3 separate regions of the Homo sapiens genome follow, and regions 1 and 3 are each linked to region 2. The links are contacts of gene promoters, found by promoter capture Hi-C in human tissues and cell types (Jung and others, 2019). All regions are on one chromosome and are shown on one strand. The core of a region is centred on a gene start or on the middle of the fragment in contact, and the rest is flanking DNA. Distances in the headings are between cores, read along the strand shown. Region 1 overlaps LOC100507002 (a long non-coding RNA gene). Region 2 holds the start of PRKCA (protein kinase C alpha). Region 3 has its middle 160 kb from the start of LINC02563.

Region 1 (3,828 bases), core at 864-3,363, 1.2 Mb after region 2:
ATTGAATTGTAGGACACTCAGTTTGTGTTGGAGAATTGGTTGGTGTCAGGAGAGGAAAAAAATCCTCACTTGTGAATATAGATGCAAAATCCTAAATAAAATATTAGCATTTTTGCTAAGGAATTAGAAAAAATCAAGCATCCATCTAGGGTTTATTCCAGGAATACAAAAGTGATTTAATATTCTAAAATCAATCAAGGTAATTCATCACATTAGTAGGAAAAAATAAGATCATAAAATCATATTGATATATACATAAAAATGATGAGTTGATAGATACATAAAAATGGTGACTTCAGAAAATGTGGTTTCAAGAAGTAACATCAGATTCATTTTTCTTTCCTCCCTTGGAGTTCTGTCTGTCCAGTCTAGATTGATTTGTAGAAGAGAACTGCAGTCTGTTCCACGCCTAGCCTGAGCCATGGCCTGTACTGCCTGTTATGTTGTAAGACCCTCTGATTTCCAGGACCCTCTGGCTTTGGATTTTGGTCCCCATCTTTGGGTCTGCATGTTTTTTACTGATATTTCAACCTGCAAGACAAAAAAGAAGGAGGCCGGTAAACAGGTATTATTTAACATAATTATTGACATATGTAATATAATTACTATGTCGGACACTCTGGTAGGTTCTGGAGGGACAAATATGAACCCAAGTTCTGGAAGTCTAAGTAACTCATCGAAATTCCCACTGCTGGTAAATGACAGAGCTGATATGTGAACCAGTCAGTCTGGCTTTGGAATTCATACTCTTACTCATTCTGTCACTAACTCTACATGACCAACCATAATACTAGGCATTAAGTGTCAAATAGACATAAGTTACACAGGCTGTGAAAGCACAAAGAAAAGACATCAATTCTGGCTAGGGGTGGGTTGGTTCTGGAAGGCTTTTAAAGAAAGAGGATTTAAGCTGATACTTAAAGATTTGTAACTGGCAGAAAATGAGAATGTATTACTCAGGATAATTTAGATTATGCTGTGGTAACACAGATTTAACCCAACAAGGGTTTATCTCTCTTAAGAAAATGCTAAGTCAAGTTGGGCAGTGTCCAGGGCCCTCCCTTGATGTCTTGACTCAACTCTCTAGGCTGCTACCATTTATGGTTTCTCATTCCATTACATGTGCTCCATCACTGTGCAGGGGAAGAGAGAAAAACATGGAGAATTGGTACTCACCCTTCAAGACTTCAGCCTGAAAACCCACACAACACTTCTGCTCATGGCCCAGTAATTCTAACTCAGAGAACATGGGCTATTTGGCAAGAAGTTGTTGCTTCTGCCCCAGAGAAAAGGAGCATTCCAGGCTGAGGAACAAGCACGTGCAAAGGCATGAATGGGTAAAACTGCATGGCATGCCAAGGGAGAGCAAATAAATCCAGGACACAATAGGTCTTCGATGTCATTCATAGACAAATGGAAGCTCTCATGGAGAAGCAGCAGAGTTTGCCTTGTTTTGCAAAATTATAGATGGTTTTAGATGTGCAAAATTATAGATGCAAAAAGGAGGGTATGCAGTTGTAGCCATGCCCTTGGACTTCGCAGCCTCCATAATCGTGAGCCAAATAAGCTTCTTTTCTTTGTAAATTGCCCAGTCTCGGGTATTCTGTTAGAGCAACAGAAAATGGACTAAGACAAATAATCAAGAAATACTTCCTAGAGGAAGTGAACTTGGAAGGGAACCCATGGTACGGCCAAGTAGAGAAAAAGGAGGAGTAAACCTTTCTGTATCAGAGGAAATAATCATGCAGGAGAGAGCACAGTTCAGGCAGAGGCAATGAGGAAAAGTAAGAGAATATGGTCACTAGAAGCACTATAGATGAGTCTCTTGTACTTAGACACTGCAATCCTAATTGCACAGGAGCTCAAAAGGGACAGCAATCATAGGATGGTCCTGTGGTTTGAAGGTGACTCCCAAAAGTTTGTGTGTTTGAAACTTAGTTGATAATGTATACAATTTGGTGAAGGCAAGAGAATATGATTCCAAGATTTCCTACCTCTCTGCCAAGCCAATGGTGGTAGTCAGTATTTAAAACAGGAAACACAAAAGAAAGCAGCCTGTTTTGAAAGAGAAAAACTTGTTTGTGCCGTGCTCTGGAACATATACACAGAAATGTGTAGCAGCCAACTGGAAATAACAGCCTCAAGCTCTGGGGTGAGGAGAGGCATCCCAGGATGAAGGTACAACAGAAGCAAAGGAATGGAGACAGGAAATATCAGGGTATACAGGAGACCTACAGTAAGAATGAAGGTCATTCCTCACCCATTTACTCTGCCCTTGCCGCCCTCCTCAGAGTTATTTCCCGCTGCCTGCTACACATCTGCACCTGGAGGGCCCCTCAAACGCAATCAACTCTTTGGCTCCTATCAACCAAATCCAGAGCCATCCATCCATACTGCTCTGTCTTCATTGAACTGTTTCAATCTTGCAGTATCTATTTTTCTGCCATTAATCATAATTTTTTTTTTTTTTGAGACGGAGTCTTGCTCCGTCGCCCAGGCTGGAGTTCAGTGGCGCGATCTTGCTCATTGCAAGCTCCGCTTCCCAGGTTCACGCCATTCTCCTGCCTCAGCCTCCCAAGTAGCTGGGACTACAGGCACCCACCAACACGCCCGGCTAATTTTTTTGTATTGTATTTTCAGTAGAGACAGGGTTTCACCATGTCAGCCAGGATGGTCTCGATCTCCTGACCTCGTGATCTGCCTGCCTCGGCCTCCCAACGTGCTGGGATTACAGGCGTGAGCCACCGTGTCTGGCTGCCATTAATCATAATTCTATGCACCATTGTATGAGCCCTCAGTTCACAAAGTCCTTTTAACATATATGCACGTAGCCGTCCTCAGAATGAGACCACTGGTTTTTCTAGCCTCAGTGAAGCTGAAAAATAGATGATGTCAGCTGTGTGACACTGGACCAGTTAACTGACCTCTCTGAACCTTAGTATTTTCATCCACTAAGGAAAAAAACATCTAATATCTGCCCTATCTATTTAAAAGGGTGCTTGTGATCAAATGAAAATAATGAATATGAAACAGTTATATAATCCCTAAGGCAATATAGGAACAGTGACAATAGGGTGGGAGTGGTAGTGATAGATGTTATCATTGTCACAATATGCCTTCTAGGGACCAGACAGTAAAGACACATAAGAAAAACTCAGTTAGACAACCTAATGCAAAGAGTGAGATTTAATTGAATACTTTTTATGAATCCAGTGGCATGACTGCTACAAATAAACAACATAATCTTTGTCCTCTGGGAGCTGAGGTGGTAAAGTATATAGAGAGAGATGACCAATACACAGCACAGAATAAAAATGTGTCTCATGTGAAGCATACAGATCCTAATTGCACAGGAGCTGAAAAGGGACTGTGATCACAGGATGCTTCTATAGGTTTGAGTGTGTCCCTCAGAAGTCCATGTGTTGGAAACTTAGTTGCTAATGTAACAGTATTGAGAGGTGGGGCCTTTTAAAAGGGAATTAGGTAATAAGGGTAGAGCCCCATAAGTGGATTAATGCTGTTTGTGAGTGAGATCATTTCCAAGGGACTGAGTTAGTGCCCTGAGGTGTCTTTTGCGTGCACTCACTTGCCCTTCCCCATTTCTGCTGTGTTATAATGCAGTATGAAATCCCTTACCAGGGGCCAGGCATGGTGGTTCACGCCTGTAATCCCAGCACTTTGGAAGGCTGAGGCGGGCAGATCACGAGGTCAGGAGATTGAGACCATCCTGGCTAACACAGTGAATCCCCGTCTCTACTAAAAATACAAAAAATTAGCCAGGCATGGTGGCAGGTGCCTGTAGTCCCAGCTACTAGGGAGGCTGAGGCA
Region 2 (3,978 bases), core at 967-3,466:
TTAAATAGCCTTATCTACGACTACCTACTCCTTTGAGCACAGTCGCTTCATATGCCGACTAGACAGTGGAAATCACTCATAGAGGTGGCTGTGCTTTTCATAAAAGTGTACTTGGGAGCAGATGTCTAAAAAGGAAAGGAAAAATTAAACACCTTATTCGCACCACGATCATGGGACCTGCCCTTTGGGATGTTTTTCCCCAGGTGTGATGGATTCCGACAGAGCCATCCATACTATGCTCACCCTAGTGGCCCAAGATACCTGTGCCACACAGCTGGCTGGTGGCAGGATTCACTCCGTGACTGCCACCCTGTGCAGCTCCCCCTGGCCTAGAAGGAGAGGGAGCTAAGAAGCCCTAGCCATAGCTCTGTCTTGCCCGGAACTTCCTACACCACAAAGAAGAGGTAGAAGAGTCAGGACGTCGGGCAACTTAAAAGAAAAACCAAACTACTGCTGCTCTAACTAGAGGACCTAGAGCTCCTTTAGTTCCAGCTTTCAAAACTTTTGTGTGGTGACGGGGATCTGGGAAGAAGGGTCACACACCTTTTGAGGATCAGATGAAAGCTGTAATTCTCTCACCAGGAAAAAGATTCACAAACACAATTTCCCTCAGTTTTACAGGGTTCAGAGACCCCTGAAGCCCTTCTATGTATCGATTCTCCATAAGCCCCCAGGGACCCTCCGAGTTAAGAATGCCTGAATTCATTGGCGATTACCTGATCTCTGACCTCTGGCCCTTATATTATTTTTCTTAAATAAGGCCTCTGCCCTCATCAACAGGGTTACAGGTCTAATCTCGAGTTGACAGGGTCTGTTTCATTTTTTTTGAGACGGAATCTCGCTCTGTCTCACCCAGGCTGGAGTGCAGTGGCCCGATCTCGGCTCACTGCAGCCTCCGCCTCCCGGGTTCAAGCGAGTCTCCCGTCTCAGCCTCCCGAGTAGCTGGGATTACAGGCGTGTGCCACCACGCCCGGCTAATTTTGTATTTTTAGTAGACGGGGTTTCACCATGTTTGCCAGGCTGGTCTCGAACTACTGACCTTAGGTGATCCGCCTGCCTCGGCCTCCCAAAGTGCTGGGATTACAGGCGTGAGCCACCGCGCCTGGCCGACAGGGTCTATTTTAAATGAGTCCCTCTGCCCTTGTGCCATTTGCCTGCTAGAACTCCCCCTCCCCCACTGCAAGCTTTCAACAGTTTGCTCTCTCTCTCTCTGCTCACTCAGAAAAGTCAGTCTCTCCGTGCCCAGTAGATGCAGCCTACAGTAGGCAGGGGCCCAAGATGCCAGCGCAGTCCAGCCCGATGGGAAGCACAAACACAACCCCCCCACCCCGAACGCGCCCAGCCTGGCTCGCCAGCAACTTGGACCGCGCGCAGTGCAATCGCCGCCGCTCCCCCGTTACTCCGGGGCGCGTTTCTCCGGGAACCTTTGCCCCCTTAGGGCCTCTCCTCCTCCCCTGTCCCCTGGGCTCACACCCCGGCAAGCGGCCGCTCCGCTGGGTGCGTGCGGGTGGGCGCGCCCGGGGAGGTGAGGGGCCCGGCCCGGAGAGGGATCCCCTTCGCCACCGTACGGGGCCAGCCTCCCTCTCGCGCCAGGGGGTGTGTGTGGCGGGACGGCGACGTCCCGGGAGTCCTGCCCGCCGGTGTCAGGGCCGGGCGCGCGTGTCACTCCGGGCGAAGAGTTCGGACTCCCGCCGGTTCCAAGTTATCGGAGTGAGCCAGCCCCGGGGCGGACGCGCCGGAGCGCCGGGTGCCGGGACCCGGAGGCGGGGAGGAGCGGGGCAGGAGTGCCCGGCCCGGCACCTACCAGATGAAGTCGGTGCAGTGGCTGCAGAAGGTGGGCTGCTTGAAGAAGCGCGCGATGAATTTGTGGTCCTTCACCTCGTGCACGTTCTTCTGCCTCAGCGCCCCTTTGCGGGCGAAGCGGTTGGCCACGTCCTGAGACGCCGTGGAGTCGTTGCCCGGGAAAACGTCAGCCATGGTCCCCCCCAACCACCTCTTGCCTCCGCCGGGGAGCTGCGGCCGCGGAGGGCCGGGTGGGCGGGGGCGGCGGGGGAGAGGTGCGGGCTCGGGGCGACCCCGGGCGCGGGGCGCGGGCCGGTGGCCGAGGTCGCGGCGAGGGGGCGCGGCGGGGGCCGGGGAGAGTCGGGCTGGTGCTGCGCGGAGCGGGAGCGGGAGCCGGAGCCGCTGGCTCGCCCGCTGGCCCCAGGCTCACTGACAGCCCGGTGCCCGGCGCTCGCGCTTCCTACTCGCGGCGGCAGAGGCGGCCCGGAGCGGCACCGCCCACCGCGCATGCCCCGAGCGCGAGGCCGCGAGGACGAGCGGCGGGGGCGCGCGGGCCGGGCGCGCGCGGGGGTGCGGCGAGGGTGCGGCGGCGGCGGCGCTGAGCGGACCGGACCGAGTGCGGAGGAGGCAGCGAGTGCCTTGCGGTGCTGGGAACACTGGGCAAGGGGAGGCGGCGGCGGCGGCGGCGGCGGCGGCGGCGGCGGCGGCGGCGGCCGGGGGAGGGCCGGCCCGAGTGGGGATGCGGGGGAGGAGGCCGGGAGTGGCGGGTCCGCGCTCCTCCGCCGCCTTTTTCTTTCCTCCCCTTCCTGCGCCCGGCTCTCCTCCCTCTCGCCCTCCTCCGCCTCAGTTCTCCTCCTCTTCTTCCGCTCTTGCCGCCCGGCCTCCTCCTCTCCCGGTCTTCCTTCTCCCACTCCCGCTCTCTCTCTTGTCGACGGGCTCGGAGTCCTGCGCCACCCGTGCCGGGCCGAGAGGAGCCCGCGTCCGGGAGTGGGCTCCACGCGCAGCCCCTGCCCCGGAGCCTCCCGCCCGGTGCTCACCTCCTAACCCCTCAGCACCCGCAGCAGGGAGCCCCTTCCCCATCCTCAGGACCCCCGGTGTCTCCAGGGCACGACGCCCGTGTTTTAGCTGCCTGTACCAGCTTGAGGTTTCACCTGGCCAAAATGTCACTTTCATCACGTGTGCACTAAAAGACCTAGCCCCTAGACCTTCCTACAGGAGGAAGAGAGCGATTTTTAAATAATTAAGCATTGACCCTTTCCCCTACCTTCTCTTCTTGACCTATACCTTATTTCACCTGCGTGTGGTAGAGACTTTTAATTTGTACGTCGGGCATTTATCACCACGTGGGATGGTTAAAGGACTTGTCTTAGGTATTTATCCCGTTATTCAATGGCCACCAGAGCGACGATGTTGATTATCAGGCTTTCTTGATTTTACAAGTCCAGGACCTTAATTTAGAAATCATTTTGCATCCCAAGCTAATTACTGCAATACTGTCAGGTGCAGAGTGCAGCCAGTACGTTTGTAACTTACCAAGTAAAACTGCCTGTGAAAGAGTAGCGGGCATGGCTATGCAAAGGACGCAGGTGGGGATGCACCAGCTAATCACTCGCTGAATATTTATCAGGTCTGCCTGGAGGCCGCTAAAATACATAAGGGAAATAATCATTTCTCAGCGTTTCATTGGTGTTTTGTTTTATTTGCCAGATTCACGAAATCCCCAAAACGACTTTACGAGCTAAAGAGACCAAGAAAGAGAACACGTTTGATCCTTCAATAAATTTATGTTGAAAAAAAAAACTTTTCTAAAATACTTTCTTAGAGCATGTAACATAGGCCAAGTAGAGCTAATATTGTTTTCTTTGAGATTGCCTAATTGTGATGCTTGATGATAGGAATGTCCTTTATATTTTTAACAAATGGAAGCTCTCCTGACTGGCCGTCAGTGGTGCATGCACTTGACTGATCCATTTACAATCTCTTGAGCCAGTCTTGGTGCTTCAAGAGCCTGCACCTGCCTGGTATTCTAGCTGGTCAGAAATTTCGCCACTCATGGTCGCCCCTCGGGTCCAAGGAGTCAAAAAGGGAAGAAGCAAAGAGGAATGAAGAGCAGGGCATGTTGGGGAAATAGTCCCAATTCTCCATGAAACACTAGAAGCATCTCAAGCCATGGTGGTTTATTGCTTGAAAGCAGAA
Region 3 (3,908 bases), core at 873-3,372, 1.0 Mb after region 2:
ATACTGGGTGCTATGGATTGAATATGTGTGTCTCACCCCAAATTAATATGTTGAGTGTGTCTGTATTTGGAGATGGGGCCTCCAAGAAAGTAATTGAGGTGGAGCTCTGATTCAATGAGATTAGTGTGCTTATAAGAAGAGACACCAGAGTGTGCTTTCTCTCTCTGTCTCTCTCTCCCTCTCTCTCTCCTTCTCTCTTTCTCTGTGTGTAATAAGGAAAGGTGATGTGAGGATACAGTGAGAAGACAGCTGCCTGCAACCTGAGAGGAGAGCCCTCACCAGACACCAATCCTACTAGACCTTGATCTTGGATGTCCAGCCTCCAGAACTGTGAGAAAATAAATTTCTGGGGCCAGGCGTGGTGGCTCACACCTGTAATTCCAACACTTTGGGAGGCTGGATGGCCTGAGGTCAGGAGTTCAAGACCAGTCTGGCCAACATGGTGAAACCCCGTCTCTACTAAAAATACAAAAAAAAAAAAAAATTGCCAGGCGTGATGGCACATGCCTATATTCCCAGCTACTCAGGAGGCTGAGGCAGGAGAATCACTTGAAACTGGGAGGTGGAGGTTGCAGTGAGCCAAGATTGCACCACTGCACGCCAGCCTGGGCAGCAAAGCAAGACTCTGTCTCAAAAAAAAAAAAAAAAAAGAAAAGAAAAGAAAAAGAAATTTCTGTTGTTGAGGCCACCAGGTCTAACGTATTTTGTTATGGCAGCCTGAGCAGGCTAATACACTCAGGTAAGCCAAATGAACATGTTTCAACACGGTCATTCATTCATTCACTTGTTTGGTCAATAAATATTTGCTGAGCTCCTCCTGAAGTCAAAGGCTGGGCTGGGCTGGGCTGAGTTCATCCGGCATCCTCTGCTCCTTCCACACTCTGTTGTGCTTTCTGGTTCTCAGAGAAGGGGCTGTAATATGCATGGCTCCCACTTTTATCTGACCATAGAACACTTTTGGTGAGGAACAATGCATCCCAAGGGGCACTTTGAGAAACACTCAAATAATGCTTTGGTCCAATGGAGAGATGGATTCTTTGGGTTGTGTTTTACCATAGCTGTTATTTGATTCAGCAGAACTGGGCACCCATACTGGGTATAGCGTCAGGCTGAACACTGGGAAGGTTGAAAAGCAAAGAAAAGATAGGGAGTCAGGAGAAAACACGGCATATTTTAGAGGGCAGGAAGCTTAGAATAAAGCGGACTTGGTTTCAAGGCTTGGGTCTGCCCTTTTTTATGATTGCTGTGGCTTCTGTTCAGTTACCTCTCTGTGCTTCTGTTTCTTCCCATGTAAAATAAGAATATCTTGAAATGTTACCAAGCCTTGAAATAAAATAGATATAAAGGACTTGGTACTCACAGCACCTGACATAAGTGGTAGTCATCACTGTGGTATGCAAAGACTGTTCCCTTCATGGGCAGAAATCAGAGGACATTGGATCTCCTGCGATCCAAGATCTATGAGCAAATCCCACAACCCCCTCCCGATGCCACTTCCCCATCCAGAAACCTGCTTCCTCCAGGGAAGCCAGATCCTGATGATCTCTGGGGGCCCCTTAGAGCCCTTAGCACCTAGGACTGCCTTCTTCTGTAGACTCCATCTCCTACCTTGACCTGTAGAGCTGCAGCTGGGCTGTGGAACTTCATCATCTTTTACTATTAATTCAGTGGTGATCATGCCCCTGTACTGAAGTGGAGGTCTGATTATGAAGGCCTAAATCCACATTTTTCCTAGCATGGTGATGGCCAGCATGTTCTTCTTTCATCTGAAGGAATTTTCTTATAGTTCAAGATGCACTGACGCATTGCATTATCCCCCTGAGGAACCAGTAAGGCTTTTTCAGACTTGCATTTATTTTATTTTTAAATTTTTATTTCTTTTTGAGGCAGGGTCTCTCTCGGTCATCCAGGCTGGAGTGCCATGGTGTGATTTCAGCTCACTGCAACCTCCACCTCCTGGGTTTAAGCAATTCTCGTGCCTCAGCCTCCCAAGTAGCTGGGATTACAGTCATGCACCACCATGCCCAGCTAATTTTTGTATTTTTAGTAGAGACGGGGTTTTGCCATGTTGGCCAGGCTGGTCTTGAACTCCTGACCTCAAGTGATCCACCCTACTCAGCCTCCCAAAGTGCTGGGATTACAGGCATGAGCCACTTCACCTGGCCCCAGACTTGCATTTTAAGAGCACCTTGCCAAGCCTTTCTGCCCCTGTTTGCTTTGCAATTGACAGGGTCTTCCTGCCCATGTTTGGGTTCCCTATTAAATAAAACTCTGTGTCTCCACATTAGGGGATGGGAAGGTCTGCTGAGCTGCAGGATGGAAACACAGCCTATGTCAGCAAGGGTTTGACCTTCCAGGCAAATGTTGCCCACTGTTTGTGTTTCTTTGTCTCCACTATGTTCTGGAGGGACGTTAAAGGAGCACGGGACTCTGAATGACAAGAAAGGGATGTGAATCTATTTCTGCCACCAGCTCTCTGTGTGACAGTGGGCAAGTGACTAAGACCCTCCAAGTCTCTGTTTCTTCTTTTTTAAAAGGGGGTTAATAAGAGGTTATTTTGAGGATTGCCCAGTGTATTGTTTGTAAGGGACTGCCATAATAAAGTACCACAGTCTGGGTGGCTTCAACAACAGAAATTTATTATCTTGCAGTTCTGGAAGCTGGAAGTCCAAGATCAAGGTGTCAGCAGGGTTGGTTTCTTCTGAGGTCTCTCTCCGTGGCTCAGCCAGCTGTCTTCTCCCTGTCTTTTCTTTTTTTTTTTTTTTTTTTGAGACAGGGTCTTGCTCTGTCACCCAGGCTGGAGTGCAGTGGCATGATCTTGGCTTACTGCAACCTCCACTTCCCAGGCTCAAGCAATTCTCCAGCCTCAGCCTCTCGAGTAGCTGGGACTACAGGCATGAGCCACCAATGCCTGGCTAATTTTTGTATTTTTAGTAGAGATGGGGTTTCGCCATGTTGGCCAGGCTGATCTCAAACTCCTGACCTCAAGTGATCTACCCGCCAAGGCCTCCCAAAGTGCTGGGATTACAGGCGTGAGCCACTGCGCCTGGCTGCCTCCCTCTGCTTTCATATGATCTTTACTCTGAGGGTATCTGTGTCCCAACCTCCTTTTCTTATAAAGACATCAGTCATAGTAAATTAGGACCTGCTCTAATGACCTCATTTTAACTTAATTACCTCTTCAGTGACTGTATCTCCAAATGCAGTCACAACTTGAAGTACTGGAGGTTAGGACTTCAACACAAAAATTTGGGGGTGGGGGGAGGAGACACACAATTGAGCCCACAACACCTGAGGTAACAGGGGGAGTGATGATATTACATTGTATAGGGCACATTGCTGAACCCAAACCTGGTGACAGCTCAATGCCTTCAGTCATTTAAGGAGTTTTTGTTGTTAACAATCACCTGCAAATTTCATGCTGTACTGTATGACATGAGGCTACATTTTTAAAGGGTACTTGTAGGCTGGGCATGGCAGCTCATGCCTGTAATCCCAGCACTTTGGGAGGCTGAAGTAGGAGGATGGCTTGAAGTCAGAAGTTCGAGATTAGCCTGGCCAACATAGCAAGACTCCAACTCTACAAAAAATAAATTTTAAAAAATTAGCCAAGTGTGGTGGCAAGCACCTGTGTTCTCAGCTGCTTGGGAGGCCTAGGTGGGAGGATTGCTTGAGCCCAGGAGTTCAAGACTGCAGTGAGCCATGATCGTCACTACACTCCAGCTTTGGTGACAGAATGAAACTCTAAGATCCTGTCTAAAAAAAAAAAAAAAAAAGGACACCCATAAAAACACTTGCTGTTGGAGATGTAGTCTGAAGCATCTTCTGCACCCATCACTCCCTAGTGTGCACCCTAGCCTGCACCCATCACTCCCTAGTGTCCCTAGCCTAGAGTCTGTAGCCTGCAC

Evidence for each region. Contacts are between HindIII fragments. The study calls those that stand out against the background at their distance.
Region 1: a fragment that was not itself captured here is called in contact with the fragment with the promoter of PRKCA in region 2 in 1 of the 25 tissues and cell types used here (dorsolateral prefrontal cortex).
Region 3: a fragment that was not itself captured here is called in contact with the fragment with the promoter of PRKCA in region 2 in 1 of the 25 tissues and cell types used here (spleen).

The regions. Positions count from the first base shown.
Region 1 is chr17:65,107,419-65,111,246 of GRCh38, reverse strand. LOC100507002 (a long non-coding RNA gene) reads right to left here. Exons shown (of 3, transcript NR_110801.1): 3 at 152-531. Among named protein-coding and RNA genes, the nearest start is that of RGS9, 28 kb to the left of the region's middle. The HindIII fragment of the contact is 6,493 bases long and covers 1-3,828 here.
Region 2 is chr17:66,300,851-66,304,828 of GRCh38, reverse strand. PRKCA (protein kinase C alpha) reads right to left here and starts at 2,216. Exons shown (of 17, transcript NM_002737.3): 1 at 1,805-2,216. The coding sequence starts at 1,977. RefSeq lists an enhancer at 921-1,422. The HindIII fragment of the contact is 12,107 bases long and covers 1-3,978 here.
Region 3 is chr17:65,298,898-65,302,805 of GRCh38, reverse strand. No RefSeq gene overlaps it. Among named protein-coding and RNA genes, the nearest start is that of LINC02563, 160 kb to the left of the region's middle. The HindIII fragment of the contact is 6,261 bases long and covers 1-3,908 here.